Regions from separate parts of the Homo sapiens genome. Here all the other regions are linked to region 3. The links are contacts of gene promoters, found by promoter capture Hi-C in blood cells and fetal thymus (Javierre and others, 2016). All regions are on one chromosome and are shown on one strand. Each heading gives the region's core, a stretch centred on a gene start or on the middle of the fragment in contact. The rest is flanking DNA. Distances are from core to core; before and after follow the strand shown.

Evidence for each region. The method cuts DNA at HindIII sites, captures the fragments that hold promoters and counts their contacts. A CHiCAGO score of 5 or more calls a contact.
Region 1: a contact is called between a fragment that was not itself captured here and the fragment with the promoter of PIEZO2 in region 3, in 2 of 17 cell types (megakaryocytes and M2 macrophages). The highest score is 6.0, in megakaryocytes.
Region 2: a fragment that was not itself captured here is called in contact with the fragment with the promoter of PIEZO2 in region 3 in 1 of 17 cell types (M2 macrophages); the score reaches 6.0 in M2 macrophages.
Region 4: a contact is called between a fragment that was not itself captured here and the fragment with the promoter of PIEZO2 in region 3, in 4 of 17 cell types (M1 macrophages, megakaryocytes, M2 macrophages and 1 more). The highest score is 8.0, in M1 macrophages.
Region 5: a fragment that was not itself captured here is called in contact with the fragment with the promoter of PIEZO2 in region 3 in 2 of 17 cell types (M0 macrophages and megakaryocytes); the score reaches 5.2 in M0 macrophages.

Annotation. Positions count from the first base shown.
Region 1 is chr18:10,801,475-10,806,806 of GRCh38, forward strand. It overlaps PIEZO2 (piezo type mechanosensitive ion channel component 2), which reads right to left. Exons shown (of 56, transcript NM_001378183.1): 9 at 2,401-2,520. Among named protein-coding and RNA genes, the nearest start is that of MIR6788, 44 kb to the left of the region's middle. The HindIII fragment of the contact is 7,536 bases long and covers 1-5,332 here.
Region 2 is chr18:10,821,359-10,827,088 of GRCh38, forward strand. All of the region lies in intron 7 of PIEZO2 (piezo type mechanosensitive ion channel component 2), which reads right to left. Among named protein-coding and RNA genes, the nearest start is that of MIR6788, 65 kb to the left of the region's middle. The HindIII fragment of the contact is 7,771 bases long and covers 1-5,730 here.
Region 3 is chr18:11,148,110-11,153,576 of GRCh38, forward strand. PIEZO2 (piezo type mechanosensitive ion channel component 2) reads right to left here and starts at 1,460. Exons shown (of 56, transcript NM_001378183.1): 1 at 416-1,460. The coding sequence starts at 479. It overlaps LOC124904249 (a long non-coding RNA gene), which reads right to left and starts at 407. Exons shown (of 2, transcript XR_007066288.1): 1 at 1-407. RefSeq lists enhancers at 1-2, 31-869 and silencers at 563-632, 643-822, 843-1,122, 1,363-1,812. The HindIII fragment of the contact is 3,432 bases long and covers 1-2,500 here.
Region 4 is chr18:10,869,264-10,874,992 of GRCh38, forward strand. It overlaps PIEZO2 (piezo type mechanosensitive ion channel component 2), which reads right to left. Exons shown (of 56, transcript NM_001378183.1): 5 at 1,990-2,152. Among named protein-coding and RNA genes, the nearest start is that of MIR6788, 110 kb to the left of the region's middle. The HindIII fragment of the contact is 243 bases long and covers 1,130-1,372 here.
Region 5 is chr18:10,766,367-10,771,518 of GRCh38, forward strand. It overlaps PIEZO2 (piezo type mechanosensitive ion channel component 2), which reads right to left. Exons shown (of 56, transcript NM_001378183.1): 21 at 3,782-3,942. Among named protein-coding and RNA genes, the nearest start is that of MIR6788, 9.3 kb to the left of the region's middle. RefSeq lists an enhancer at 3,170-4,369. The HindIII fragment of the contact is 3,035 bases long and covers 2,093-5,127 here.

The DNA of each region.
Region 1 (5,332 bases), core at 2,322-4,821, 340 kb before region 3:
CATTTTACTGTTTATGTATCTATAAAGTTTTACTGTGCACAAGCCCATTCTCTTTAACTTGCTGATTGCTAGTATATTAATATTGCCATGCAAAATATAAAAGGACAAATAAATGAGCTGGATGCTGCTGTTTATGACAACTATTTCACAGCTCTTGATGTTAATGTTTAGTTATACAGCAGATAAGCAAGTCTATAAATGTTACCATGTTTTTCAAGGGTTATGTTCTACAAGAATAAGCGCTTAGTTTTGTACCCGTTTGAGACATCTGCAGAATTCTGAATGTATTTATGTTTCAAGAAATAGAATTTTCATAATAAAGAAAAATTGGGCTCGGCGCGGTAGCTCACGCCTGTAATCCCAGCACTTTGAGAGTCCAAGGCAGGCAGATCACGAGGCCAGGGGATCGAGACCATCCTGGCTAACACAGTGAAACCCCATCTCTACTAAAAATACAAAAAATTAGCCGGGCGTCGTGGTGGGTGCTTGTAGTCCCAGATACTTGGGAGGCTGAGGCAGGAGAATGGCGTGAACCCGGGAGGCGGAGCTTGCAGTGAGCCGAGATCCCGCCACTGCACTCCAGCCTGGGCGACAGAGCGAGACTCCGTCTCAAAAAAAAAAAAAAAAAAAAAGAAAGAAAAGAAAAGAAAAATTGATTTGTAATGTGGTTAGAGATTATTTTAAGATTTGCATACTGTCTACAACAAAATGATTATTATATGACTCTACTTTTTAACTAGTAATACATTACTACCAGGTGATTTGGGCTTCCCCCAAATAATAATTAGCACAGCAAGTGGTTCTACCACAATTTTAGGTCAGTACTCATTTGCATTCTTAAAAATCACTGAGGGTCCCAAAGAGACTTAATTTATGTGGGTTCTATCTATCAATTATCTACCATACGAGAAATTAGACCAGGTAGTCTTAAAATACTTATTTACTTATGTATTTATTCATTAAAAATTTAAAAAAACCCATTGTGTGTTAGTATAAATAATTTAAATAGTTATTTTTTAAAACAAATAGTGAAGAGAGTGTCATTGTTTTATAATTTTGCATATCTATTTAATGTCTAGCTTAATAAAAGACAACCGGATTTTCACATCTGCTTCCGTATTCAATCTGTTGTGATGTGGTGTTCCGGTTGAAGTAGATAAAGAAAATCTGGCTTCACATAGGTATGCAATTTGGTCAAAAAGAAGTATTTTAGTGCCGGGCGCAGTGACTTATGCCTGTAACCCTAGCACTTTGGAAGACCGAGGCAGGCGGATTGCCTAAGCTCAGGAGTTCAAGACCAGCCAGGGCAACATGGCAAAACCACATCTCTACTAAAAATTCAAAAAAATTAGCCAGGCGTGGTGGCACATGCCTGTAGTCCCAGCTACTTGGGAGGCTGATTCAGGAGAATCGCTTGAACCCAGGAGGCAGAGGTTGCAGTGAGCCAAGATCACACCACTGCACTCCAGCCTGGGTGACAGAGCGAGACTCTGTTGCCAAAAAAAAAAAAAAAAGGTATTTTAATAATCTGTCTAAATAACTGTGGACAGTCTTTGCTACTCGATCAGACTCAACCAGTGTAGTCTTGAATGTCAGTTGTAGTGCAGAATCTGCAACCATATCAGTGAACTTTTCATACATACTCTGCTACATTAAAACCCATTGGCATATCATGCACCCCGACTGGATCATTTATCCACGTGCTGTCATGTCAGGTGTTGGTGAGTCGGAAACTGCTGTTTCAGTGAGTTACAGGTATCGAACTCTACCAAATACTGACAAGTTTCAGTATGCCATGAGTAAAAAGCACATTTGTCAATATCACCTCATCTCATCAGAAAAGTCCACAAATATTGGAAAGTTTTTAAGCCCTCAGTAGATATGAATTTTCAAAAATTCTAATTTTTACTCAAATGCTTAAATTTTATCACTGGTAACAATTATTGTCCGTTGTTTGCCTCAAAGTGATGAGCTCACTTCATTTATTTTCAAGTAATTGTCTGCCAAATACCCAAATCAACCAAATACCCGACAGAGTAAAATTATTTTCTGCAATATAGTTCAGCACTGAAATTTTCACCCTCCAGTGCTAACAGATTGCTTTGCTACTTTTGTTTGTTTTAATTACAAAATTATTTTTTAATAGGAACATTCTTTTTAAGATTAGGAGATTTCAGTAGAAAGCACGGAAATATAAAATGATGTTCTTGACGGGATCTGGGTATTTTCTTTGGAAATAGTTTTCCCTCTCTGGTACTAACTCTCCTAAATCACTGTTTCTATAAACTACAAGCAACCTGAATATGATATGATATATATGATATTATAAGGCTCATATTCAACAGTAAAATACAAAAACAGAAAAATTAGGGAACGGAAATCCCTTTCATCATGGCTTACTTTTCTCTCATCAGTGGGGTAATGGGTTGCGTACCACAGGCTCCGCCTCCTCCCCGCTGTTATTTGGATGGGGCTACAAGCCAGGGCTTTGTCCTCTTCTTTGGTCCCCTCATCCTGCACCTGAAACACAGAAACAGGATCAGTCTTGCTTCCTGAGGCAGTTCCCTAGACAGCCTGGGTGGCCAAGACAGAGCTTTTCATTTTGGCTCAGTATGATGACTTTTCAAAGTGAATGTTTACAATATACAGGATTTTATCAAGACACTTTAAAAAATGACAAAAATACCACCCTGTAATTGTAAGTACACCAGTATTAAATGTCCCCTGATTCTACTAAGCCCCATGCATTACAGAATATGCTCCATTGTTAAATATCCACAGCTTTTCCACGTGCATTCTCAACTGCACTCAAAAGCAGAGATGCACATGGCTCTTAGCCAAGAGCCTTCACAAAGGTGCGCGGTTAACCGTGTAAGCCAGCTGCCGGCAATCTTCAATTAAGACTGGATGTATTGAAGGCAGAATCATCTAGAGCTCACACAGCACTAAGCAAGAGCGTATCTATGCACATGAGACATTTGCCTAAATTAGACAACTGGTCTAGGAAAGGTGATAGAGAGGAATACGAGGAACAGAAGCGCTTCGGTGCCTTAGCATGTTTTCCCAACAAAAGTGTCCTAGTGAAAAGGGCAGTCAGGCATCACTGATACTGGAGTGGAGTGGACTTAGTCTCATTGTCTGGGTCCCAGTGCACCAGAGTAGAACTCCTAAGCAGGGCACCCTAACTCCCTGGGAGGGGCGTTACATTTGCCAGGTGGGGGCCACATATTACACTGAAGTCTCGACACTGACTTTTCTCTCTCTCTTTTTCAAACATGTTTCATAGATGTCTACTTCAGCACTCACATTTGGTGGCCGGTATTTTTCATTAAATGCACCAGGTCACCTGGAACTATGATATAATCAGCTTCTTTTTCTCATTGACTCAATGCAACAGGCCTTCCGTCCCAGCCCATTTGAAATAGAGCCCACATGAAATGTTGATGATAGTTTGAAGCCCACTTCTCTACATACCCCTGCAGACCTCGTGATTTATAACATTGCTGTTGCTGTGTGGCCTATAGCCTAGAAGGTCTTCCCGGCTCTCTCTCTGCTACCTTTGCTTGCCAGACAGCACATGGCAGTGGAAGCAGAATATCGCATGGACCCAAAGTTATAACGGAGCCCTCATCAAGCTACTGCATTATCCAAGAGATGACATGGGATATCCCAGAGAAAGCAAATGGGCTGGGAAATCTTAATAACTAGAAAGCCTTAAAGTAATTTCCATAATGTATAAGAGTTTGTTCAGAAATAGTTCCCATCGTGGTGGCTCATGCCTGTAATCCCAGCACTCTGGGAGGCCAAGGCGAGTGAATTACCTGAGCTCAGGAGTTCCAGACCAGCCTGGCCAACATGGCGAAACCCCGTCTCTACTAAAAATACAAAAAAATTAGCCAGGCGTGGTGTCGGGCACCTGTAATCCCAGCTACTCAGGAGGCTGAGGCAGGAGAATTGCTTGAACCCAGGAGGCAGAGGTTGTGGTGACCCGAGATCATGCCATTGCACTCCAGCCTGGGCAACAAGAGTGAAACTCCATCTCAAAAAAATATATATGTATATTTAATTTTTTATGTACATGTTTTTATTTGTGAATATATACATATACATATGCATGTTTGTGGAGGAATTGGACACAATTTTAATGATTCTACTGGCACAGTCAAATTTTAGAAGAGAACTGAAGAAAAATATAACACAACATGACTGGGATTCCTTACCACCCATAAATCATTTTGTTACTATACAACTGTCATCAGTGGCCTAAAAGAAAGATGATCCATGAGAACCCTGCTAACAAGGATGGCCTCTGAGACCCTAATCCCACAGATGGCTGTTAGCCACTGAGATGGGGGGGAGGTAGCACATAGGAGGAAGACAGCACCATCCTCATTTCTGCAGGTGGCGCTTCTGTCAGGGATGACCGGAGCCATGCGCCTCCTGCAGTTTTACAGTCACTATCTGATTTACAACCTGTTTGCTTCTCTTGGACCATTTTTCTCTTTTAGAATGTACAGCTCTCTAAGTGGGGCCCTGCCTACTGAAGTCATTGCTCTATGCTGGCCCCTAGGTTAGTTTCAGATCCAGTTGGCCTTCCATAAATACTCATTGACTGGCTGACTGATGAACATGTGGGAATGGTCTGTGGGTACAAAGACAGACAGAGAAAGTAGGGAACTTCTGCAGGGCCTCAGGCTAGAAGTGATTCGGAGGAGGGGGACTGGAATGCAGAGACTCAGGCTGGGCCATGCTCATGAGAACTGTCCCCAGCTGTAGGGTTCCCCGCAGGTGGGGCCTGAAAAGGTGCGGCCACCCTGTCTACACAGCTTGTCTCCTTCATGTGTCAATAAGCAACCTTGCAACCGGGCTCCTGACAGTCATTTAGGGGAAAGAAAAGCAGGCTGATATTTTCTGTCACTGAAGGAGAAAAGAGAGAAGAGAAGCCACCCAGGCTTCAGTCCTCCCCTCAGAAATGCTGTGTCCTTGTTCATATTTTCATAGGGAATAAACACCCTCAGTTGTGCTGGAAGAATATTCGAATCCCCATCCCTCACAAGGGGATACTCAGGAGGCAACAGGCACCACCAAGAGCTGGGCTATCACTCCATCTTCACAGGCTAAGAGCGCTGGAGGAGATTTGGGAAACACCAGTCCTCTTGATAACAGGGGTGTGTGTCTCTGAGAACTGAGCTTTGTTGTCAAATGTGGATTAGAATCTGATTTGTACCATCCAGTAAATGTGTGATTTTAGAAAAACTGACATCTCTAACCTCATTTTCCTCATCTGTAAATGGGTATAATACCTATTCTATTGATCAGAGTTGTTTAGTTT
Region 2 (5,730 bases), core at 1,066-3,565, 330 kb before region 3:
ATAGGAGGATAGCTGGTCTAGTACACTTCACATATCTTTTTAACACCTGCCTGACTAATATGAATATATACTTGCATAAAGGTATCTACCTACCCACCTAGAAGTAGAATGTTCTGATTAAAACAATATTTTTATCAAAGGCTTACTATATATAAACACTATATGAATAATAAATATTTTATTTGTAACCAGCTTATACATTAAAATGAATAATTACATCTTGCCTTATTTTCTCTCTTCTTACCTCATTTCAGATACAACCTAGAAGTTTTCCAGGTTGCTGGAACCAGGAAATATGAGTCAAGTATCACCCCCACCCACCACCACCTTTTTCATCAAAGATTCTACCCACAGCACCATCCTGCGCCCTCCCTGTCTCTCACCATTTACAACATAGACCTCAGGTGAACATACATCCTCTTTCAACTTCTTCCACACTTTTGTCTTTCTTGAATTCTTAGCAGAGAATCTCAGGAAAACTCCTTGTTCTCTTTTTACTTTCTTTTTATATTGTTTGTAAATTTAAACGTGATTAGAGTCATTGATTACAAATGCAATAGTGCTAGTATAAATTTGTCAGAGAAAATCAAAGTTACACATTTTGTAATGAAAATAGATTTTCTAACAAGTTTCTTACCTTCTAAAATGTGTTTCTCAAGTTATGAGACCCTTTAAAAATTGCTATTCATTTGTACTAATACATTTGTAAATGTAACAGAAAATAATAATTAGTAGAAAATGATCACATGCCTGCATGTCACCACAATGTCATTGTGCTATATAAATTTTAAATGCTTTCTCTCAACGTCTGCATTTAACTTGTTGAAAATCTGTTTCAAACAATTCATGGACCAGCACTGATCTGCCATTTGGGATAGCAGTGACTTAGAGTATTAAGTCAGAATATTGTCAATCATCTCTTGCTAATGGCTTACCCATCCCTAACTAACATTTTCTACAGCTTTATATTGGAAATAAATAGCTGAAACTTTTCCTCCCAATAAAGTTGGTATTCTTAAAATTACCATTATAATCAATGATAGTAATTAAAATTCCCTTTTCCAGGGTGGTGATGGCTAAAAATACCTTTGAGAAAACACTGAAACAAACTTCCTATTATGTCTTAGAGGCCCTGACACTTAGTTGGAGAAGCTCCCTGATTAGGAATGCTGGAGCACCAGGCTCCTTTCTGCTAAGTCCCAGCCCTGGAAAGCATGGAGGGAACCAGGCCAGTGTCTGCTGGCCTCCAATCAGCCTAGTGGAATCAGCTCTCATAGGTCGGGAAGGAGTGAACCTGTGGACTAAAGAACGGCACAGCAGGAGCCGGCTCACCACATTTCCTGTTAGATGTTATCAATGCTTCTCTTTGCAATTTTGTGAACGCGTTGGGGTGCACTAAGCGGCTAATGAATGTCTACTTGCCAAGTTTCTAAAAGGGAGTATGAACCAAAAGACAGCCAACAAACAGAAGTCTGCTACTGTGGATTAAACTAACTTTCATAAATTAAACTTGGAAATTAACATTTATATCTAACCCAGAAAAATCAGCGGCTCAACAAACTTTTGGAACTCAGCTAGATTGAAGTCTGTGAACTTCTTAGACATTATACAGGCTGCTATTTTAAAACAAATAGAATATCTCTTAATACTAAGATGATTTGAAAATGATATAACTTTTTCTTTCATGATTCAGAAAGTATTTAAGACATTTTATGACCTTAGAGCTATTGCCAGTAACATCAACTCCATTATAAGGTACCGAATAGGTAGAAGTAGAGAGCTTGAAAGAATTTGCACTGGCTTGCTGAAATGTCTAGGTTCTCTTTTTAGACAGAAAAGATTCTTTTTATTTATGTATTAACATTTTTGTTTTTTATTAAGAATAATTAATTTGAGCTTTCAGATTGTTTAATTTTGCAAAAGTAGGAAATTTTCTCTTACTTTCTTATTTTGTATTTTGGAGATTACTTCTAACAAAAACAACCTGCCGCTTCTCTTTTATTCCCTTCACAACTATGATGACTTAAATTGTCCACTCAACAACGGGAGTATTTAAAAGAATCACTACATATAGCCCTGAATTTTTTCTCACACATCCTGTTAATAGCCCTAAAGTGCCATCTGTTATCTAGAACGTGTGAAAAATAAAAGAATCAAAGCTGCACATTATTTTGGTGAATGCTTGAAGGAATAATTTTTTTCATTCACGCATCCTCAAATATGCTTAGTTTTCATCTTCAAATATGGCCTTCCTTAAATGGAAACAACCCAGTTCAAAAAGTACAGAGTGTGTGGAGAAACAAAGGGAGGGGAGGGATAAATGTAATTGCAATCAACAGGTGCAGATACAAGCAATACAAAGCTAGTCTTTGAAGAATCAGAGGGAAAAAGAATCCCACAATAATTTACCAACAACACAAGAGACTGACATGAATGGTGAATGGCTTTCCATTTTTTAATTGAATGTAATGATAGGACTTATAAAACATACACAGACACCCATTGCTCAGAGGAAGCACATATTCGCATTCTGCCACATTTCGTTCTGCCAGCACACTTAAGAAAAAGTAATTAAAACTTCATGGCATAGCTAAAGCCTTGCCTACAGTTCTTTCACTCCTCCTCTTCCTTCTTCCTCAAGCCTTATCCTAAGGTCAGTGTATATCATTCCCATGAATATTTAACTCACTTTTTCTACATATGTATGCACCCATAAATAATACATACAATTGTTATATGAATTTAACCCTATATATATATTTTATGCACATATATAATATAGTCCATTTTAACTTCTGGGTAGTATTTCATTGCATAAATAAACCACAGACTACTCTAGAAATCTGGGGCTAGGGAATAATTTACGAGAGTAGCAAGAGACAAGTCTCCATAGTCTGTGGGAAAAAATGTATTTAAAATAAAGGCAACAAGAAGGTGATATAAAGGCCTTCAAGACCTTAATATTTGCAGAGCCTTGGTTTCCCATCTGCAGCTTTCTCTGCTGGAGTTTTTCAAAACTTCTTTAGGTTTTATGTTTTATTTAGATACAGACAAGTTATTGCATATATGCTTTCATGTTTATTTAAGGATATTTGTTGGCTATGAACAGTAATAGTGCAAAGCTAATAAAATTTTAAATGAACATGACAGAGAAATTTAGATTTAGATTTCTAGATAACTTATGACATATATATGTATATTATGGAATACTATGCATCCATTTAAAATAATAAAAAAATCCATCTATCTATATATCCATATCTATATTTGATATGAAACAAGTTCCAAGATATATTTCAAGTGTTTTTTTAAATTTTAGAACAATTTTAAATTTACAGACAAGTTGAAAACATACTACAGAGAATTCTCTATACCCATTTTCCTCGACTGTTAAATCTTACATTAGTATGATACATCTGTCACAATTAACAAAACAATACTGAGACATGATTTTAAACTAAAGTCCATATTTTATTGAAATCTTCTTAGTTTTCACCTAATGTCATTTTCTTTATTTTTGTTTGAAACAGAGTCTTTCTCTGTCACCCAGGCTGGAGTGCAGTGGTGTGATCTTGGCTCACTGCAACCTCCACTTCCTGGGTCCAAGTGATTCTCCTGCCTCAGCCTCCCGAGTAGCTGGGACTACAGGAACCCGCCACCATGCCTGGCTAATTTTTGTATGTTTCATAGAGATGGGGTTTCACCATGTTGGCCAGGCTGGTCTTGAACTCCTGACCTCAGGTGATCCACTCGCCTCGGCCTCCCAAAGTGCTGGGATTACAGGAGTGAGCCATCATGCCCGGCCACCTAATGTCCTTTATCCACACTAGAATCCCATGCAGAATGCTGCATTACATTTAATCATCATGTCTCTACGGGCACCTCTAGGCAATGACTTCTTAGATATTTCTTGTTTTTGATGAGCTTCACAGTTCTGAGTTCTCATCAGGTATTCTGTGGAATGCCCCTTTGTTTTGCTTTGTTTGTTTTCTCATGGTTATGCAGGGGTTAAGGATTTGGGGGAGAAAGGTTGCAGGGGTAAAGTGCCATTCTCATCACACCATTCCAAGGATACATGCTATCAACATGACTTATACCTGATGATGTTAAGTTTGATCACTTGGCTGAGTGTTTGTCAGGTCTCTCCACAAAGAAGTTGCTCTTTTTTTTTCCACTTTCTTTCCTTTCTTCCTTTTTTTTTTTTTTTTTTGAGACAGAATCTTGTTTTGTCACCCAGGCTGGAGTGCAGTGGCACAATCTCGGCTCACTGCAACCTTTGCCTCCTGGGATCAAGCAATTCTCCTGCCTCAGCCTCCCAAGTAGCTGGCACTACAGGCATGTGCCACCATGCCAGGCTAATTTTTGTATTTTTAGTAGAGATGGGGTTTCACCATGTTGGCCAGGCTAGTCTCGAACTCCCGACCTCAGGTGATCTGCCTGCCTCAGCCTCCCAAAATGCTGGTATTATGGGTGTGAGCCACCATGCCTGGCCTCCACTTTCCATACTCTATATTTTGGAAAGAAGTCACAATGCACAGCCCACACTCAATGGGGTGGAAAGTTAGGAATTATTCTGAATTCTTCCATTTTGGACAGAATTGCCTCTTATCTCCCATTTATTCATTCAATCATTTACTTATATCAATATAAACTCACAATATGCATTTTATACCCAAGGTTTTACTCCAATACAACTTTATTTATTTTGTTCCTCAAATTATTCCATCTTTGACCACTACCCTGACCTAACTCTAGTATCAGCCATTTCTCCAAGGAGCCCTGGTTCCTTTTATTGGAGAGTGGTATTTAGAAACCAAGATGTGGGCACTAGCTGTGCTCACTGCAACAGCTCCTCATTGCTTCTAGGCCCTCTCACCTGAAAGAACAAGAAAATATGTGTGCATATACGCAGATATAGAAATATTTATCCATATCACCATCTGTATTTATGTTAAAGTAAATATGAGTTCCTAATGATGACTCCAATTCCAATCTGTTATCATATTGTTCTAGCCTTCCCTTGTTGCTTATCTGTAACCTCCCTCTCAAACAGGAAGACACCTGCTGCCTCATCTGCCATCTATTTACTTATTTGTTTAATCACTCTATACATGTATAGTGATTTCAGAACTGATAACATGTACTTCTATTGGAAACTAATCAAATAAAGCACAGTGCTTATATGCAGTTCCTTTTGTCTTCAGTCATACAATCTCCACTCATTTCCAGTTACCTAAGTCAGCAAATTTCTTCCATCTTCCTTCAGTGAAATAACACATTGTTTATATGCTTACATTTTTTTTGTCACAGTCTACATTCCATTCTGAGATCTTCCAACCTCTAATTGGTTAGTTTTTAATTTGCAGACATTAAGGCATACTCTTTATGCTATAAAGTGCAATGGGTTTTGACGAATGTATAGTGTTGCGTATTCACCACTACGGTACCATACAGAATAATGTCACCACCCTAAAATATTTTCTGTGCTTCACCTATTCAACCTTCTGCCACCTCTCTCCCTTAACTTCTGGCAACCACTGATCTGTTTGCCATCTCTTTATTCTTTTCCAAAAAGTCATACAAATAGAATTATTCAGATGTAGCCTTCAAAGGTTGGATTTTTCACTTAGCAATATGCATTCAATATTCACCCTCCCAGCCTCACTCTGACCTATGTTTATGTTCTTATGCATAGATATATAGAAAATAGATATATATTTATGCATAAAT
Region 3 (5,467 bases), core at 210-2,709:
GGCCGTCTGGAGGCACAGCATGCTGTGCTTGCAGGGTCACTGGGGCGAGGGGCTCAGGTAGGAGCCTGACTGTACCTACGATGGGGACGCATCCGCCTTCCAGCCACAGCAATGGCCATCCTTAGTACACAAGTCAGTACTCCACGAAAGAAAATCCACGTGTAACTAAATTCAACATAAACAGTTTCCAGCACATGCCCGTCCCGAGCATCCTGTTAAGAGATACCCCGATCGCGCGCCCCAGAGTGGGAAGTGAGAGAGCCAGGCTGTGCACCAGGGACAGCGCGCGTCTGACGCCGCTGGCCTCCCGAATCGAACCCCAGAGCACCAGAGCCCTTCACTTTGTTAAGAAGTCCCCCACCCAGGCGCCCCCCTCGTCCTCCTCAAGTGCCCTCGGAAAGCGGACCAGACTCACCTACTGCCAGGCAGATGGGCAGCAGCAGCCTGAAGATGAGCCCGCACACCACTTCTGAGGCCATCGCGTCGGTCCGGCGAGTCGGAGCAGAGGGGCGAGGCTCGAGGGTCCCTAGGGGTGGTGGGACGCAAGGCCCATGCCCGTCTATGGCCTCTCGCCGCCGGCAGCTCGCAGCCACCCGAGCATCGCCTCGGCGCGGGCCGCGACGCTCTCCGCCCCGAGGGCACGCTCCCGGGGCTCTTGGCCGCCCCTCGCCCACCGGGCTCTGGGTAGCCCCTCACCAGGCTCTTGGCGGCCACCTAGCCCGGCGCCCGGCCCCCTGCGGCCGGCCCATTTAGTGTGAATCCTGGATCCGGCAGCGGCGGCGGCTTCTTCAGGGGTAGCTGATGCCGGGGCCTTGGAGAGGGACGCTTTGGGAGGGTCCTGGGAGGCGGCGCGGCGAGCAAAGGGGGCAAGAAGGGCGTGCTGTGCTCCCGCCTGGCTCCCGGGGCGTCGTTTGGGGGCGGCCGGGGAGTTTTCTACTTGGAAGCCCCTCTGAAGCCACCGCGTCTCCTTTGCCCGGCCTCGTCTCCGCTGCCCACGCAGGCTGCCGCGCTCTGGCCTCGGCCCCGGCTCTCGGAGCTGCCCGGCGGGCTCCGGGTCTCGCCCTCCAGCCCCCAGGCGGCCCGCGGCGGATCCCCGAGAGGCAGCGCAGCTCAGCCCCTGCGCCCCCCAGCTTCGGGCCGGAGAGACCGGGGTGGGAGCTGCCAGGCGCGCAGAACCATCCCCGCCACCACGGGGCTCGCCTTGTGGGTCCGGTGCGCGGGCGGCGCTGCGAGTCCCTCCCTCACTCGAAGGAACGGCGCGAGCGTGGGGAGAAATGGAGACCAGAGCGCATATCGGGTGAGTGGGTCTCCCACTCCCTCCTCCACCGCCTCAATTTAAAACTCAAGAGAAAAACCAGCGCCGTCCCGTCGCCCAGCGCGACCACCGCCTGCCGCCTTGCAGCCTCGCCCTCGCGGCGCAGCCGGGGCTCCCCGGCGGCGCGCGCTTCTCCACCTTCAATGAAACTTTCGAAGCCCTCACTCGGGGACGGGCGTGTCCCCCGGCCAATGGGATGGCGGCTCCGGGGCCTGCGCGCGCGGAGCCCGCCCCTGAGCGGCTGGGGAAGTGAGAGCCTTGCACCGGCGCGGAGGGCAAGCCCCCACCCGCGGCTCCCGCGCCTGGGAGAGACCCGGCCTGGCCTGCCAGTGGGCTGCGCGCCTTGGCTCGCCCTCCGCGGGCACTCCTGCCCCACTGGCTCCCGCAGCCCCGCGGCTCTGCGTGGTTCTGTCATTCCGGTGGTGCACCCTGGCATCCAGTCCACCCGGCCGGGCCCTGAGCTTGCCCAAACCCAGGGAACCGTTTAAGGTCCGAGGGAAACGCACAGGCCCGGCAGGAGAGAAGCCAGGGGCTTGGAGAGTCCTGTGCGACCCCGACTTCTGCTGGGTCCACAGGTGCACACTGGCATTAAGAAGAATAGAGCTGAATTCATCTACACCGTTGACCCTGCCCATATTTCACATAGCAAGAACTTGCCATTCTGAATAGACTCTGGGAAATCCCGGGTCTTCCCCAACAGATAATGCACCCACTTTGTGCATTTGGGGGAACTCTCCGTTTTCACCTCAGTTTTGCTCCTTGCTTGTCGTGGCTCTGGGGAAAGAGAGCGTTGGCACTGAGAATATTCTCCCTTTCTCCTAGTGCACTGCTTTTTGCCTGTTCTAGGCAAGATCTAGAGAAATCTGGCTCTAGCTGGGAGACTGCAGTGTGCCTGGGTCTTTTATTTAACTGTTATCCGAGAGTGGAGGAGATTTGCTAGAGCACAGTAGGGGTCTTTCCGGACATGGAGGAAGAGGCTGTTAGCATCTGTAGAGAGGACTGTTCAGGACTGGCATTCCATCAGGAGGACACACTGGGAAGGACCTGGCTTCCCTTCCGCACCTACATTCCTGGCTTGCATTAGTTGGAGGGGATAGAGCAGTGAGCTGATGAAAAACAGGCAAACCCCCGTCTTTTTAGCCATTTGAAACGCTTTTGTGGACATCCCTTTTTTGAGACAGGGTAAGCTTGTGGTTTGAGCTCAGGTGCCTTCACGAATTCTCTGAGAATTACAGAAAAACTATGAACCATTGCTTTTTGAATGAAGACTCAAGACAGTTGGCATATGGTGAAGACACCCTGAAACTTAAACCACCCATGTGCTCTGCCATCCTCAAGAAGCTTAGATAGCACCTAAACCCGGGCGTAGTCATGAGCTCAACAGCAGACCTACAGGAGACGATAGAACTTAAATTAGCATCCAGTCACCAAGAAATGCTATCAAGAAATGGTTTGTGTAGCCTGTTTGTAGAAGCCTGATATAAATCTACCACTAATTTTGATGTTCATAAGTCTGCCTTCACATCCATGCCCTCCCCACCTCACCCCATGTACGACTCATTCTTGGGAGCTAATAGGTGAAGGACTCCTGAATTTTAAATAATACTGTGTCATCACATGAATTCTGTATTCTCTGAATACTTTCTTATGTTCTTGATAGGCTTCCCATACTAACAACTGTCTAGACTTTTTCACAATAATTCTCTTTCAAAATAACATAAGCTGGGAGGCACAAGATTCCCAGCAGGTGGGTGGTCTTACCAAATAAACTTCGAGCTTTCTCTGCCACAGTGTGTACCAACTTGGCTGCTGGGGCGTTAGAGATTTTAACAACTACATCCCAGTTCTGAGACTTCCAACGTATGTACTCAAGGGGAAGTTTCAGCGGTCTAGACTACATCTGAAATAGGCTTCTCCATGCTGGCTACATGTTGCAGTCACCTGGGGAGCTTTTGAAAAACGCTCAGTCTCCACACTCCCTGAAATCCTGATTTAATTGGTCTGCGATGGGGCCCCCACACCTGTATTTTTCTTAAAGCTCTCAAGTGATTCTTAAGTATGCAGTCAGGGGTGAAGACCGCTGTCCTCATTTTCATATCAGACTCAGAAAATAGTCCATTGGCTTTCAAAACCAGCATCTCCAAACCTCATCCACCTTTCTGAAGCTGTATTTTCTTTCACAATGGACTTGACTTGAGCATACATATCCATAGCAGTGGCATTGTTTTTACAAGGGCTGTTTAACCCTCAATTTTCCCTGCTCTCATAGAAGCAGTATCTGGTGTCTAGACAGGTTAGTTTTTAAGGACTCACCAGCCCATGAGGGTATTGATCACTGTTCGGGAGCTCTGCTTGCCTGGCAAACTTTATTCCAAAGTTTGCCAGAATCTTGTCTAAAATTTGAAAGAGTATGTGAGTTTAAAAATGCTTTGGGGAGAAATCAAACATGTAAAATACTCATGGACATATTATTTTGATATTTCATGGGTACCTGATGTGTATAATCACCAGTTTACCCCGGTAATGAATTAAGCACCAGACACCCTATGCCTCTCTGCATCCACAATGACAAACAATGACTTCTTTTGATCATTATTGAGACTTTTAGTGCCTCAGCTTCTTCATCTGTAAGTTAAGGAAAGCAGTAAAACCTACCCAATATGGAGTCTACACAGATAGAGACAGTTTATAGAGTTCTTAGAGAAATGCCTGGTGCATAGTAATCATTCAATGAATATTGGCTGCTATTATTCCTATTATTGTTGTTATTATTGTTGTTGAAAAACAAGAACTAATTCTACATTTATCAAACAATTATGCTAAAGCACAGTGACCTGCAGTGAGACAGACAGCAATATGTTTATGCTCCCAGCAATATGTTTAAGAACTGATCAACATTTTCTTAAGTGTTCAAGGTTTTCTCCATAGTGTGTCATTTTTTGCCTTGTGTGCATTTCATCTCACCTGTTTAGATTTATCTTTTTTTTTTTTTTTTTGAGATGAAGTCACACTCTGTTGCCCAGGCTGGAGTGCAATGGCACAATCTCAGATCACTGCAACCTCCGCCTCCCAGGTTCAAGTGATTCTCTTGCCTCAGCCTCCCAGGTAGCTGAGAATACAGGCGCACACCACCACGCCTGGCTAATTTTTGTATTTTTAGTAGATACAGGGTTTTGCCATGTTGGCCAAGCTGGTCTCGAACTCCTGAACTCAGGTGATCCAGCCGCTTTAGCCTCCCAAAGTGCTGGGATTACCGGGGTGAACCACCGCACCTGGCCCTAGCTTTTATCTTTTCTAAATTTGGTTTACTGTTGCACTGATTGACAAAATCATTCAGAAACTCGATCTTTGTCCCAAACACTAATTTGTTTGTATCATGCTTACTAGGAAAACACAGATAATGTGTTTAGCCCTGTGTCATGTTTAGCTCTATGTCTGTTATTCTCTGGGATACTTTGTTAGCTTCCTTTGAAAGATCTCAGAGATGGATATTGTCCCAAATGGGAACTTTACAAAACAATGTCTCCCACAAGGAATATAAAGTTTGTCAACCTGGCATTTTCTTCCTTCAGTGAAATCTGCCAAAATCCATTGATGCCATCCAGCCTGTGGAGAATGTGGTACCTCTTACCAACTTAATTAAGGAGAATATCTTCTAGCATTGGTCACATGTGTTTTTCTTACATATATGTTAACTAAAAAATTTAAATATATATATATTTCTAGTTCTCATTTATAATTATCATTGTGTCATAAGGCACAATATTTATTTGGAAGTTATTTTTGTTAGAAGCCACAGAGATTTTGGCTCTTATTCTTAAGAAAACTTGGAAGCTGAATGGCTTTCTTCTTTTTGCTAATATATGCTGAGGTTGTACATTTTTAAAAAGCTATCAATTTAATGTTTACAGCAGAAGTATTTTCGAAGTCTCCAAATTCCAAAGACCTAGACAACTTCTAATAATGTGCAGGAGACATGGTCTGCTCATACTTCTGCTAAAGAAGTTATCCCTCATCAGAGCAACGCACAGTGAAATTCACTGTCTCTGACATCTGGCCCTTTGGTGGAATCTTCCTGCTAAGCCTACGTAAAATGTATACTGTAGCCTTAACTGCAGTTTGTGAATTGTAATATGGATGCCGAATCTGAAG
Region 4 (5,729 bases), core at 1-2,500, 280 kb before region 3:
ATGTCTGACTTCTAAGTCCACTCAATTTTCAATACTTATCCTTTCCCCTCCTTCTATAGTTATTATTTATGAGGATAATAATGCATGCGGGGCTTGAAATCTGGATGACGGGTTGTTGGTTGCAGCAAACCACCATGGCACATATATACCTATGTAACAAACCTGCACTTTCTGCGCATGAATCCCAGAACTTAAGTTAAAAAACAAACAAACAAACAAACAAAAACTTGCTTTTATAAATCATAAAAATAACAAATACCCAGTCTGAAGAATGTGAGTTACTGGTTTACTTTCCCCAAACTTAGGCAAATTTTGGTAAAGATTATTTAAATAAAGTCATTTTCAAACTGTAAATGTAAAAAATAGTCAAAATTTAAATCCTCTGTCTTACAATTGGAATGTCAACAAGAAGAAGAAGCACTCTTCCGTTTTTAGGGCACTAATGCATGCCTTATGGTGTCAAGTCTTGAAAGTAAGATGTAAGTGGTTAGTAGTGACTTTGACTTTACTATAATTACTGTTACACCAAGCATCATTTTAACATTTGCCTTAAAAATAGCAGAATATTGATAAGCAAGGTGATTGCATATCTTTTACCCATAAGAATTTTAGACAATGTATATATTTTTTAAGACAGAGTCTCGCTCTGTCACCCAGACTGGAGGGCAGTGGTGTGATCTCGGCTCACTGCAACCTCTACCTCCTGAGTTCAAGTGATTCTCCTGCCTCAGCTTCCTGAGTAGCTAGAATTACAGGCAAGCACCATCACGCTCAGCTAATTTTTGTATTTTTAGTAGAGACAGGGTTTCACCATGTTGGCCAGGCTGGTCTCGAACTCATGACCTCAGGTGATCTGCCCACCTGGGCCTCCCAAGGTGCTGGGATTACAGGTCTGAGCCACAGTGCCTGGCTAGACAATATCATTTCTAGTTTGCATAGGTTTATTGAATTCTATCCCTCCTTTATTGTTTTTTAAATAAGCATACAAGGAAATTGTCTGCTTTCTTGTGAACCATATAAATCATTTTCCATAAGTGAGAATTTTCCTCCCTCAATGGCTCATCGGTTAACATTCTCAATATAAGTAACTTCAATTAACTTCAGTTTTATAAGTGTAATATCTTGCCAAAGCTTATGACTGAAAACATTTAGTACTTGCAAGCGTTTTGCATCAAATGTCCAAATAAAATAGTCACTTTTTCCTTTATAAATGTTATCTTTCCACTAATAAATCAATTACTCTTTAAACTGATGTCTCCTAACCTCACCTAACAAAGTACAGTTATTAGAACATAACAGTGTCCTGAGGCTGGTCAGGGGGCAGCGTGAGAGCCGTCTGACAGCTCTGATACCCAAGGACGAAAATAGGACAAGCTTCCAATTCAGCAGTTGCTCCTGAAACCTTTCAACCAGCTAGCAAACATACATCTCGTTCATTATTTTTACCTTTTTAAAATTCTCACACTTTTCCAAATATGTATGTTTTTCCCCCTTGGAGTGCTTTAAAACAACTTGATCAAAGCATGCCAAGTTAACACCAGTCCACTGAGCAGGACAAGGTGCACAGACTGGAAAGCTGCCCTGCAAGGAGGAACTCATTTTTTTCCCTAAAACTACCAGATGTTACTTCTTTAAATATTCTGCAATAACTAAGGTACCCAGACCAATTGAACCATAACACTATGTATGACCTTGCACGGTTAGCCTCCGAGATAATATCACGTGATAGTTTGGGGTGGTGGGTCAAAGCCTGGCCCTTACCTATGAACACCCCTGAGCCTGTCTTCTCATGGCTAAGGTGTGGACCAGAGTGTCTGCCCACCGGGACTGCACGAGGGTGTCATGCAATTTGACAGTAAACGTTTATGTCAAGCACTGTGAATCATAACGTGCTCTGTATGCTCAGCTGTTATTATCATAGTTCTGCAACTTATTAAGGGTCAAGGTCCTCAGAAATCAAAGAAGGAAGAGACATGGAGTTGGATTTACCAATTCTTCATTTTCAAACTCCGGGTTACTCTGTGCTGCTTCGTCTGTCACAGGTTTCTGAACAATGTTTCTACAGAGGAGCCAGATGGTCAGACTAGCAATGAACATCCCGATGTCAGGTACAAACACTCTGATCCCATTGCCAGCATCAGCTCCCTTTAAGCTATAAAGGAAAAACAAGGGGAGGGGAAAAAAATTTAGTTCTTATATTTCTACGGTTAAACTGCCTTATAGGATGTTTTGGTCTTCTTAATGATTTAAAATAAAAGATGCTCCGTTTCTCCCTAAAAGGTACAAGAAAGCTTTTTATTGACCTCAGTGTCTCACAAAATCTACACATTCAGGAAGATTCCAGTGTTCCCTGGAGTTTCAGAAATATTATAAAGAACTTTTGAACCAATCCTCACTCCTAAAACGTCCTAATGGACTATGTTTTTGTTAAATAAACCACATGTCCAGTACAAATGCAGTTGTTTGCAATCTAGCTGAAGCAGTCTAAAACTAAATACATACTAGCAGCTAGAAGATATTTTACTTTTGATATAAGTCAAAGATACAAGGAAAATAGAGAAAATGTTAAAGTAATCCTGGAATCCAGGACCTCTTCATTATTTTGTATACTTGGTTGATTTTGTCTTCTGTATTGTTCCAAGAAAGGTGGATCCAGTACATTTTCTCTTTTAATCCCAGAGAAACAACACTGAACTTAGAAGATTTGAGTTCAAGTCCAAGTCTGAAACTTAGTAGTTGCATCCTGCTGGGGGCTTCTCACAGCCATCTGTTCTGCTGTGCTGAGGAAGTAATACTATTTGCCTTCCTTATTTTGTTCAAGTGACATGAGATACTAGGTCACGGTTTTAGAAGAAAATATAAATACATATACATGAAATAATGTTCGTGAAAGTTCTTTGTAAAGAATGAAACACATATTTTCACTAAGCCTACATTTTGAGAAGAGCAGCATCAATTGACACTTAGATAATTTTCACACATATAGGGCATTTTTGTTATAATTGAGATCCTGAAACAAATATATTTAATAATATAGCAGGCAGCAAAGGCCAGAAGGTGAAGTGGAGAGTAGAAAGGGCTTCAACTGGAAAAGGAGGAGAGATCTGTCTGGGAAGGTAATACAAACGCCATCTGTGATTTTGGGAGGCGTCCAGTGGTAATGAATATGGGAATGAGAGGCAGTATACTGAGTTGCCAGCATAGTTGGCCAGCACACATCACCTCAGCTGAAATGTGTTCTGGCTAAGCTCACTCTGCTGCAAGACACCAGAGCTTAATAGGCACTGGCAGACTTCTCACACCATTCAGCACACGACACGGGCCAGCCATGTCCCTCATCCGGTGCTAGATGCCTGCCCTGTGTGCCTTTGCAACACTGAGCAACTGGGCTTGCAGTGCTCTAGTGATGTGTAGTGCTGTAACCACAGTACCTATTACTATTATTAAAGCCACATGAAGAGCGATTCCCGGCATGTTCTCTGCTCACTCATATAATATAAAATAAGCTGTAACAAGAAAAAGCTAATGAAATGACTAGGTGATATGAAGAAAAAGTTATACAGACTTAGGTTTACAAAATGAGTTTAAAATAGGGAGGATACAGGTAGAGGAGTCAAGAGTCTGTACCAGCATTAAAACTTCTGGGGAAGATAAGATGATCCATGGAAAAATCAAGCATAGAACTTCAAAGGAGGGTTAAGTCTTTGAAAAAATGTTTATCAGAGATACAACTTACTTAGGGAAAGGAAGCAAAAGATAGGGCAATATACCATGTAAATACATACACACATATATACATATTCATATGCACTTTAAGTGATTACACACTGTATTCGTTTACATTATATATTATATATTTTGGTGAAAATATTTAAAAATATTAAATAGCAAGAACCTTGGCATCTAGAAATAGCTACTGTTAATATTTTGGAAAATAAAAGTTATCAATAATACCTACCATTTTCTGAGCAGTTACTTCGTGCTAAGAGCTTTAGACACATTATTAATTAATCCAACCAACCATCATATTGAGTTAGGCATTATTATCCTTTTACACGTGAAAAGACTAAGGCTTCAAAAGGCAATCTAACTTCCCAAAAGCCACATAGAGAACAGAATTATACTCCATTCTCCCTACGTTCACTTTTATGCTTTCAACCGCTTTCCCATGTATGTATCCACATGGCCTTCCTTTCCAATCTTCCTTCTATACATGGATGTGCACATTTATACTTAACAAAACTAAGTTCATTATTTACCTACTGTTTGCAAGCTGATTTGTTCATTTAACATGTCATTAACATTTTTACAACTCATTGATGATTTATTTTTATATATCATCATACTAATGGACAGACGGTATTTAACTAGTCAACTACTGTTATAAATAGAATGTTTCCACGTATTTGTTACTATAATATACATAAAAATTAAAACTTAATTAAAGAGTCTTCTAATCTAGGATCTCCTAGGAATCAATCTTCAATCTAATCAGATTTGCTTTAAAAAATGGTCTAGCCTGAAACTATGACACTACTAGAAGAAAACATGAAAACTGCTAGAAGAAAACTATAAAACTACTAGAAGAAAATATGAAACTACTAGAAAAAAACACTGTGGAAACATTTCAGAACATTAGTCTGGACAAAGATTTTTTTGGGTAAGACCTCAAAAGCACAGGCAACAAAAGCAAAAGTAGACAAATGGGATTATATCAAGCTAAAGAGTTTCTGCCCAGCAAAGGAAATAATCAACAGAGTGGAAAGACAACCTAGATAATTGGAAAAAATATTTGCAAACTATCCAGCTGAAAGGAATTAATAATCGGAATATATAAGAAGCTGAAACAATCTAATAGTAAAAATAAACAACCAATTAAAAACAGGCAAATGACTGAAATAGACATTTCTCAAAAGAAGACATACAAATGGACAACAGCTTATGTAAAAAAATGCTCAGCATCACTCATCATCAAGGAAATGCAAATCAAAACCACAACGAGTTATCCTCTCACCCTAGTTAGAATGGTTATTATCAAAAAGACAAAAAAAAATGCTGACAAGGATGTGGAGAAAGGGGAACCCCTGTATACTGTTGGTGGAAATGTATAATAGTGTAGCTACTATAGAAAACAGCATGGAGGTTCCTCGAAAACTTAAAAATAGAACTACCATATGATCCAGCAATCCCACTGCTAGGTATATACTCAAAAGAAAGGAAATTAGTATATCTAAGAGATATCTGCACTTCTATATTTACTGCGGCACTATTCACAATAGTCAAGATATGGAATCAACTTGAGTGTCCATCAACACTCAAGAATCAGGGATCAAGAAAATATGCTGTATATACACAATGGAATATTATTCAGCCATAAAAAAGAATGAAATCCTGTAATTTGCAGCAACATGGAAGAAACTAGAGGTCATTATTTTAAGTGAAATAAGTCAGACACACAAAGACAATGTTCTCATTCATATGTCTGAGCTAAAAAAGTGGATCTCATAGAGGCAGAGAATACAGAGAGGTGGTAACCAAAGGCTGAGAAGGATGGCAGGAAGGGGGAGCGAGGAGTAGTTGGTTAATGAGAATAAAAATAGAGTTATATAAAAGGAATAAGTTCTAATGTTCAATAGCACAGTAGGATGACTATATTATTAATAATAGTTTATTATATATTTCAAAATAGCTAGAAGATTTAAAATATTCCCAACACAAAGAAATGGTAA
Region 5 (5,152 bases), core at 2,360-4,859, 380 kb before region 3:
CTGGGCCACAACCAACACCTGATGAATTAGAATTTTAGGGAAATAGATGCTGGTCCACGTACATAACAACTGTCCAGGTGATTCTTACTATCAAGGATTTTGAGAAACAGTTTTATGCAATAGTGCTTTCCCAAAAAAGCCCTGTACACAGGTTGTCATCCTATCTGAATATAACCTTGTGGGGCCTGAGGGCCCTGCCTCAAGGGAAGGGGCCTCTGAGAACCAAAGCCTCCTGGGCCCTGCACTTACCCATCCCTGGCTTCCCTCTCCCAGAGAACCCCAGTTGCAACTATCACCTCCAGGCTGCAACCGCCTGCAAGAGATACTCCTCCCTGTGCAGCAAGTGCTCACTGTGGACACCTCTAGCACAGCAGTTATTATCACTTTTAGTTTTATTTGGCAGCCATTCCCATCAGGCTGTGAGCTCAGACAAGAAGTGTGTCTTTCAAGCTACTACACTAGCACCTAGCACCATGTACGCATTCACTTTATTGTGAGTCCTTAATAAAGGCTCAATGAATGCTTAGTGAGAGTGAAAATAATAACAATGATGAGACAGACAAGAAGGAGAAACCTCAGGTCTGCAAAAGTTTCCTTCCTTCCTTCCTCCCACCTTCCATTCCCTCCCCTCCCCTCCCCTCCCCTTCCCTCCCCTCCCCTTCCCTTCCTTCTCCAATTGGCCAGGCCCCCCAGGGAGGAGCTGAGGTGCTAACAGAAAGTGTGGCTCTTGCTCAAGACTCACTGACCTCACAGAGCTGTCCAATAGCCTTCGGAATTAGAAAGTAGCTGTGTATTTCAAAAGGAGGAGAAAATGTTTATGTATACTATATATATATTTAAATCTAGATTATTCCAAAGCAGTGTCACTCCTGAATAAGATGCTGATGGAAAATAAAGGTTTCTCTGTTTCTTTTCCAGCAACTTCTTCTTTTTCAGATGCTTCATGATGCTAACTTTGAAAAGGTTTAATATTTGCAGGAGAGATGAACCCAAAAGTTGTGAAAACAAGCACCCTTACTGAGGCCTTGGGTAAGGATGTCTGGAACCCAGAGCTGCCACAGCTCCTGAAGAGCTTTCTTTGTGGAGAGGGGCTGCATCCTGCCTGTCCCCCAAGCCCCCAGTGCCAAGATGATGGGGCAGGTGGGGATGCAGGGAGGAGAACGTCCTCTGCGCGCAGCCCGAGTGAGGAGCTAATGACTCGGAGCCCGATGCGTGAACCCTGGAGCTTGGGCACTGGTACCCATGGGGCCAGAAGAGATGAAGAGCTCTGGTTACAGGGTGCAGAGTCTCTTTGCTGGGCTCCATGTGTACAAGCAGAGCAGGGCCTGTGTGAGGGTGGCCCCTGGTCCTGATGGGGAGGCACAGAGCACCCAGAGCTGCTCCAAGGCTGCGGGGAAGGCTGTCTGGAAGGGCAGCAGGACTCCACAGAGGAGTCCAGGAGGAGAAGGTGCTGGCAACCAGGGGCTGGGTGTCAGTGCCGGCCAAGAGTGGCTGTGGGATGCCCCACCGTGGAGCCTCCAGGAGGGCAAGGGCAGGTTTACCCGCCAGTTGCCAGCCCAGAGCGTGAGGCCATCATGGGATGGCACAGGCCAAGTCACAACATCCCCATCCCAGGGGGCCTTGCCCTGAGCCTGTGAGTCTGAGCTCCAGCCCAGGAAAGAATAAAACAAAAGAAGGAATAAAGAGCCTCTGTACAGTGGATTTTTTTAAAAAAGGACTAAAGAGCCTCTGCGAGGTGGATTTTAAGGAGATGTGGGTGAGAAAGAAAGGATCAGATAAGAAAGGAGGAGCTTCTACCTGGGGAGGGACCCGAGTCTCGATGATTCTCTGTGGGTGCACAATTTTAACTACTGAAGTGAGATTTTGCTCACTTAAGTCACTGTAGGATTTTGTATTTCTTAGGAATGATCAGAAAGTGCGCTGTGTTCAGGGACACGGAGGAAAGTTTCCCTGTAGGATGCATTCTAAAGGGACCATGAGGGTCTGAAGAGAAGTCTTTTGATTGGATGTCATCACCAAATTGATTGCTTAGTGTGCCAATTACATTAGAAAGAGCCAGCAATGCACACACTGTCAAGAACCCAGAGACCAAAGCTTCAGGGCCGGAAACCCCCCATGCAGGTGGGGTGACATCACGCACAACACGAGTGGCTGAAACAATTTTACAGCAATGGGATTTGGCAGATGCTAGCAGCAGAAAGAGCAGGATTTCTATGCTTCAGGAGTCTCTCACTTGTTTTAAAGTTAAAGGTGAGAGAGATGAAATTAGGAATGAAAATTCTGAAAGTCTGCACAATGTGTGAATCACAGAGAAGGGAGTGGTGATACTCTATGGAAGGCTGTTTTCCCAAGAGTGTAACAAGGTAACTAGATATTCTGTTTACTTGATGGTCTGTTAACAAGTTTATGTCTGGGGACTCATTAAGGATAATGAAAAAGTTATGTCTGCCTTTTGTTTAGGATCTATAAGAAATTGCATCCTTTAACCCTTTTCTGATGGATGGATTGTACAACAGGATGGATTTATGACAGCAGATTCTCTGCGTCCGACTCCCATGAATTTCCGCTCCCCCAATGCCCACTCCCATCACCACACTGTCTGAACACACCTTCACACCCTGCCACGCAGCTTCTCATGAATCAGAAGTCACCTGTACCTCAGACTGGATTTGTTCAGAAATGGTCTCTGTGCATTTTTTGTCAAATGCCTTCTCTTGTTCTTTTCCATTTCTCTTTAATACCCTAACCCTGAAATTTTTATCTGAACTGTTCAATTCACCTCTACAGTTAAAATGCTTAAATGTTGGCTCTCAATGAATATAAATACTAGGCTAGATTTGGGCTCCATTTAACGTATACGCCCAGTGACTTAACATTGGAGCCGCTGCCATTTCCCCACGAATCTCGCAGATAGAATGGCTTCTGTTTTCATTCCCACTTGGCAATGATTCCCTGCCCATTTCATATGGTTTGTATGAAATGGGGGAGAAGTTCTAGTTTAGACTATGGAGCTCAAATTAAGGTTCATCTCTTAGCTACCTATTTGTGAAAAGTTTTAGGTTTGTAGTGTTGTAGTTGTGATATTTTACTGTTATATATGTAACTTTTTAAAGATTATAGGCAGTACTCCCTTGATTAATTTTTAGAGGGCAAAGAATTCTTGAATTGTAACCAACTCAGAAATAATCCAGGCATATAGAAGTATGCAAACACTATTTGTTGAATAAAAGGAAAGAAAGCTAATTTCTCTGCAGTGAACATTAAATAATCTGTTGGCTGGATGACGACTCTCTTCTTTACAATCAAGGAAACAGAAGTGCAGTACAGGTGCATGGCTGAAGACTTTGTATTGTATCTCAAGAAATCCAGTAGTAAACAAGGTGAACTCTACTAAAGATTTTATTAGATTTTGGAACCTGAGCTTTCTCCTTGGTAATGTAAACTGGAATGCTACTGTTTTCCTTGGAGAATTTAGGGAGATAGATTCCCATAGGCAGGGGCAGAAGGGCAGCCTGCTCTCACACTCTTCCCTAAGGATTCGATGAAAATAAGTAGCCTTTGTAATATGACCAAGCCAACGAGAAACTCAGCCACGAGCCTCTTTCCTTTTTCTCAGTGCTGCTGACCCTCGGATTTCTGTAAGTGTAAGTACTTAGTCTTGGAGTCTTGATACTCCGATGTAATGCGGATCACATTAAAAAAATCATGGACAGCTGGAAAAGGAAAATGATGACCTACTGTGGTTCTGTTCAGCCTGATGATAGGACAAATGTTCACTTGCCTCTTTCACAGAAACCCAGATAATGTAAGAGGAAACGATTTTGATGATGTGCAACTCCAAAATCCACCACATGAACACCTGCAGCTTGTGAAAATACTCCAGGAATTTTAAGAAGAGCACAGTGAGGCGGTCAATCACCAGGTGCCATTTGTTCCTTAAGTCTGCAAAATAGGAAGTACAGACAAGAGCATAACATTTTTAAAAATATTATCATTTAAAGCATATCTTGTAACTTTCAGGTTGGAATGAGAGGCTGCAAAATAATTACAGTGGATGAATTCTAAGAAAACCAAAATCTGGAATAAGGATGATGTAAGAATCCCAAGTCATGATGACACAGATATCATACTCTCAGACTTGGAGGGACAATGTGGCTTTTGTCCACCTTTTGATTAAATTAGTGTAAAGAAGGATTTTGACATTATCTTCCTTCCTTCCTTCCTTCCACTCGCTTGCTTGCTTGCTTTCTCTCTCTCTCTTTCTGACAGAGTCTTGCTCTGTAGCTCAGGCTGAAGTGCAGTGGCATGATCAACATTATTTACTTTTCTTTCTTTCTTCCTTTTCTTTTTCCCTCCCACCCTCCCTCCCTTCCTTCCTTCCTTCCTTCCTTTTTCTGACAGAGTCTTGCTCTGTAGCCCAGGCTAGAGTGCAGTGGCACAATCTCGGCTCACTGCAACCTCTGCCTCTTGAGTTCAAGCGATTCTCCTTGAGTAGCTGGGACTACAGGCACATACCACCATGCCCAGCTAATTTTTGTATTTTCAGTAGAAATAGGATCTCGTCATGTTGGCCAGGCTGGTCTTGAACTCTTGGCCTCAAATGATCCACCAGCCTCAGCCTCCCAAAGTGCTGGGAGTACAGGCATGAGCGCCCATGCCCCCAGCCCCCTTAATCTTATTTACTCTTAAGACCAAACTATAATTTTCTAATATTCTAGGAATGTTAAATAATCTTAACTCCTTCTAAAAGACATCTTTCTTGCCACAACGGCACTTTTATAAATGGCCTGTCTCCTTCGACAAGGCTTAACTGGTGAGTGGTAAAGCTCTCTGGTTTCCATGAAAAAGTGAACCAGTCAGAGCCCTGCATGGGCAGGAAGAGCTTGCTCCTTGTCAGAACAAGAAGTGAACTCTAAGCATCAGAATGACTCAGCCCGTGGTTTTCTGAAACATGGTCAGATTCATTCAAATGATAATTTTTAATCAAATTACTTATTTTATTATTTCTACCTTGTGCTAAAACAGGAGTCATGCTTCTATCTAGAAGGACTATGCTGGCTCACTTTATTGACTGAAAGTCACAGCAGGACTGTTTTGTAATATCAGCCTGTCTTGTTTGTAAACAAAAGCTTACAAGTCTGTCTTGGCAGAT